2 separate regions of the Homo sapiens genome follow, and region 1 is linked to region 2. Evidence: promoter capture Hi-C in 16 types of primary human blood cells and fetal thymus (Javierre and others, 2016). All regions are on one chromosome and are shown on one strand. The core of a region is centred on a gene start or on the middle of the fragment in contact, and the rest is flanking DNA. Distances in the headings are between cores, read along the strand shown.

Region 1 (2,700 bases), core at 159-2,658, 1.8 Mb before region 2:
TTGCTGGTCCAAGACGTCTGGCTCTAGGGCTCTGACACTATACTACATGATAATCAACAGCAGGAACATAGGGGAAAATTGGAGGAAATTGGGCTTTGTGAAGACCTTCAGATCATTCATATGCCCAGTTCTTCTCAAACTGTAGTACGTATAAACATCTCTTGGGTTCCATTTGTTGCAGTGAAGACTCCTAGGCCCATCTCCAAAGATTCTGGCTTAATAGGTAGGCTTGGGGAATTTGGGACCAGGAAATTTGCTATAACTCCTTGAGAAGTAGCTTTCTAGGTATATACTGCAAGAAGGGTGACTATATGCATTCATTTCTTAGTTCTGCTGGAACACATCGCCACAAACTGGGTGGCTTCAAGCAACAGAAATTTATTTACTCCCAGCTCTGTAGACTAGAAGTTCGAATTCAAGGTGTCAGCAGAGCCATGCTCTTTCTGAAAACCCTAGGAGAGGAGCTTCCCTTGCCTCTTTCTAGCTTCTGGTGGTTGCTGGCAACCTTAACCATTCCATGACTTGGACTTGCATTCCAATCTTTGCCTTCATTTTCACATGGTTGTCTTTTCTCTGTGAGTATGTGTGTCTAAATTCCCCTCTTGTAAGATTACTAGTCATTCAATTTGGGGCCCACCCTAATCCAATATGATGTCGTCTTGATTACATCTATAAAGATGCTGTGTTCAAATAAGGTCACAGTTGTACCATACACCTGTATTTATCTTCCTTCAAGCCCAAGATATGGAGCTGTGACTTCTGAAGTCTGCTGAGCCCATGGAAAAAAAAGATTTTGGATGAGATGAAGAGAGTAAAGGACACATTTAGGTATTTATGATACAAGGTTTTGTGGAGGCTTTTTCACCTGCCATTTCCATCTGCCCTCCCTCCTTCTCCCATTTTCTTATTTTTCAAAGGATATGGTGTTGATTGATTGTCCTTTGGTTCAGATGAAAGTATTAGTCTCTGGTGGCTCCATGAAATGTCACACATCTCTGATGGTTTGTGGTTCTCTTGTTTTCATGGTATGAGTTTTATAAGGATTTATAGGGAAACAAAATTGGGCTTAAAATGTGAGACAACTTCTGTAGACTGTAGTTTTCTTACCTGTAATTTTAGAAGGAAAAAAAACCCTTCTATGCTATAATTTCAATGCCTTAATTCCCTATAATTTTGGTAACTTGTTTCTTTAGGGTTACAAAGAACAAATGGAATAAACCACAAATAGATATATTAGGATAAAGATAGATTTTCTTTGGTGTATTTATCTAACTAATTTAGAAAAGCTTTAAATGCCAATTAAATTATACATTTTGAAACACAGTTATATTTAGGGATAAACTATTTTTAAGTTAACATTATTCTCTGCATTTAAAAGTAGAATTTAAATAGTTCTCCCACCTCCACCTCAATCTAAGGTGCACACACATACTTTTAGCTTTACTAGAGGGTTTTTGTTAATGTAGTCTATAACAGAAATTGAGGATTTCTGTTATGGTATTTCTATTTTACTATCATACCACTGAAAAGTTAAGCTTTCTCTTAAGAATATAAGAAAAATTTAAGAGACAGCATGAGCTAGTTGAATAGTCTTATTAGTGAATTAGTTTTATATAAAATAAATTATACAATGGACATTCCAGTTATCATCTGAAAATATAATTTAGAAATTTATGATAATATATTTCTTTCTGGGTCTATTTAATTCAGAAACATTCTCATACAAGGTGGTTCAAAGAATCCAGATTTCTGGGAATGGTTTTGGACTTCTTGAAGATATAAAATATTTGACAATGCATTGTTCAATATGGAATCGTACTTTTGGAAAGAAAATCTGCCAGAACATTCATGCTACCCAGAGAGAAGTATCATTCTCCATTCTCCTCAAAATTGTATCTTCTTTGCTTTGATTCTCATACGCCTGCTATCAGAGATTTTGGAAAGTTTCTCTTCTCTTTATTGTAAAAGATCTCAGGTATAATTCAAATGGTTATTTCATTTTATAGAAACTTTACTGGAAATGTCCAAGTGCCTTCAGCAGTGGAAGGAGGGGTCAGGAGAGGGTGGCTCCACTGGGAAGCATGATTGGCCTCTGATTTGTGGGAATTTTCCAGGGCCATTGTTTGTGCGAAGTTGTGTTAAGAATGTAGGTTGAAAGGTAGATGTGGAATTCCATGGAGCACGTGCAGAAAAGCGAATTCTACTACCCAGCGTAAATCATTCGCTCTACATTAAGCATCTTTGCCAATTATTTGGGTGAGGCCATTAATGGCATCTCACTCAGATTTGCACAGGGCAAGATGCTGTGAGGATTGCTTATTATGTTGGAAAACAGAATCAAGATCCCAAAAGATTATGATGGGCAAGAGTAGTGATTTATAACCCTATTTCAGACAATGCTTTCCTTTTCATACCAGATATTTCCTAATGCTCCCTCACTATGCTGAAATTAAATTCATCAATAATATAACCCATCTGCACACATAATTGTGTGTATCTATGCATATATATATATGTGGTATCCTAACTATAATATAAACAAAAGATAGGGGAACATGTATCATGAAATAATACTTGCTTTAGTAAGTGCTTGAACTGTCCAAGTTGGAGATGATTGCTGGAAAAGGGCTACACAGTAAGTTGAACTGAAGATGTGAAGTGCTTGTTCCTAATCCTGAAATCATTTGATGTAACAACTGA
Region 2 (2,700 bases), core at 1-2,500:
TGCAGGGCAGGTCTTTTGGGCATCCTCACAGGTCACAGTTTCTGAGTAAGACGCTGCCACCATACTCAGGAGAAGGAGAGGGAGTGATGGAAACAGGGACATGGTCCTCACCTTGGTGTGAGAAAACTCAGGGAAGGTTAATCTCAGTTAATGAACACATATTTACCGAGCATGCCCTCTGTCCTACAATCTGGGTGCAGGCTATATAGAAATAGATGACCCATCCCTGGCCTCTAGCTGGGGATTTGGAAAAGTAAACATTCCTTGTGACACTGCGTGACTAGTACTTTAACAAAGGTAGGCACTATGATGAGCAGTGGGGATCCTAAGGAGGGGTTCATCTGTGCCTAGACACCTGGCGTTGCTGCTGGAAGACTATAAACATGCTTTCGGTGGCAGTGAGAACAAATGGGACCGTGCATTGCCAGCTGGCTTATGCCTGTTAGCTTAGGGAATGAGAATGAGTGGAAACCCAGGTGTCTGTAGGAGCTTCCTCTTTCTCTCCATGTCCTCTTCGGGTCCATCTGCCACCTGAATCCCATCTTTGTATCTGGGCAGCTGATTCCCCTCCAGGACCTGTTAACTATCATTTACTCATTGGCAGGCCCTGAGCTGAAAGCTGGTGATCCAAAGAGGAAGGTCTCAACCTCAGATCAACCTCAACCTTAGTCACCAACCCAGCCCAGAATTAACTGGAGTTTGCTTCCCCTTGGTGTTTTAGACAGGCTTGCCTGGGTAAGCATTTTCTCTGGAAATTTCTTACTACGTTGGCCCTGGCAGAGTGCTAAATACCTCTCTACTTTCTGGCAGGAATTCCCCATGTTCTGTGAGTCAAAAACCACTGGCAATTAGAAAACTTGCCTTGAATCCTCCTCCCATTTCTCAGTATTAACCTTTCATTTGTTCTTCAGAGCTTTCTTCCAGCTATTGCCCCCTAAGAAACCTCAGCAGCCTAGCCCCATAGGTCTAAGCCTCCAAGTTTCCCTTTGAAAACAAAGACAGTCTCCACTGCAGATGAACAGATAATGGAGGAAAGTCACAGATGCTCCAGCACAAGCAGAAAAAGAGACATCCTCAACCTGATTTCTGCTTTCCATCCCACTCCCCCCACCCCTAGAAAGCCTCCTCCATGCCTCCAGGGTCATGTCAGCTCCCCAAACCCTTGATCCGGAAACCCAGATTTATTCACCAGAAATGACTTACTGGTGTTTCTGCAGAGCAGGGACTCAGTGACAAGGACGCTGGCCCTCTAGCCTGGGGCTCTGGCAGATGCCTCAGAGTGAGGGAGGAGGCTGGGCTCAGCAATGTAGGGCCCAATCAACCTTGTGAACAAGGATATCCTGGGCCTGGCCTTCAACTCCAGATTAATAAACAGCTCTTCTCAGAACTATGAGAAATTTAGGAGCCTCCAATACAGTGCTCGGCAGCTGTCTGCTTTAATACAGCACAATTCCTCTTTCAATTGCCATCCATTTTGGCAAATCTCATTGCTGAACTACCACAGCTAGGTTCACCTAGTTAGTCCTGTTGACATCCTTGTTTCCAACAGAAAAACAAAGATACTCACAAATGCATACACATGCTCATGCACACCAACTATACACACAGACACGTGCATGCACGCACACACCCATCCATGAAACCACATAGACCTCTTGCTGCCATTAATGCATTAAGGCCATTCCTGCCTCAGACTCTTCATTTGATGTCTCCATGCCTGGACCCCTTACGGGCATCGCCAGCTAGCTCTTTCTCTTCTATTCAAATATTCCAATTTCAGAGAAATCAGTACCTTGATCACTTATTCTAAAATAGTCCTACCTAGCAGTCTCTATCCTCTTAGCCTGAATTATTTTCTCTCATGTTACTTACACTTTATGATATTATAGTCATTGACTTTACTTTTCCAGTTTTTCATTGTGGTAAAATAGACATAAAATTTACCATTTTGACCATTATTATTAAGCACACAACTCAGTAGCATTAAGTACATTCACACGGTTGTGCTATCATCACCACATCATGGGATGATTTTCATCATCCCAAACTGAAACTCTCAACTCATTAAACTAGAATTCTCCATTTACCCCTACCCACAGCCACTGGTAACTTCTGTTTTACTTTCTGTCTCTCTGAATTCATCTATCCTAGGTACCTCATATATGTGAAATCATACAATAGCCCCCTTGTATCTGGCTTATTTCACTTAGCACAATGTCTTCAAATTTCATCCTCATAACAAGAATTGTAAACTGTGTTAAAGACTTTGGGTTTCCTTCCAGGGGGCACTAGAGGGACTGCAGTAGTGGAGAGGTGATCACATTTGAATTTTGCAAGGCTTGTTCTGGCTATGATGTTGAGGGGAACAGGACTGGAGAAAAGCAGATCTAAAAGGAAGTGCTTGCCATGATCTAAGCAGCAGAAGACAGTGGCCTGGGTCAGGGTAATGGCAGCTAGATTAAGAAGGTAGGCACACTTGAGAAACAGGAGGTATTGATTGCACTTGAGAATTAGCTAGAATAGTGAGTGATAATAAGAAGTTTTCATGGGCACACACATTTATGACTTGACTATCTAGGAGCCACTCAACTGAGATAAGAAGCAAAAGAACAGCACTTGGCACTATAAGATCATGGGTATCGTGTGTGTTAATGGCTTGAACCATCTTGCTGTGGTTAATGGGGACAATCTAGAAGGGAT

Evidence for each region. The method cuts DNA at HindIII sites, captures the fragments that hold promoters and counts their contacts. A CHiCAGO score of 5 or more calls a contact.
Region 1: a contact is called between a fragment that was not itself captured here and the fragment with the promoter of MBL2 in region 2, in 1 of 17 cell types (endothelial precursors). The highest score is 6.9, in endothelial precursors.

Annotation. Positions count from the first base shown.
Region 1 is chr10:51,008,009-51,010,708 of GRCh38, forward strand. It overlaps a transcript of PRKG1 not described here. Among named protein-coding and RNA genes, the nearest start is that of PRKG1, 65 kb to the right of the region's middle. The HindIII fragment of the contact is 249 bases long and covers 1,285-1,533 here.
Region 2 is chr10:52,771,534-52,774,233 of GRCh38, forward strand. MBL2 (mannose binding lectin 2) reads right to left here and starts at 1,251. Exons shown (of 5, transcript NM_001378373.1): 1 at 1,204-1,251; 2 at 1-111. The coding sequence starts at 102. The HindIII fragment of the contact is 7,250 bases long and covers 1-2,700 here.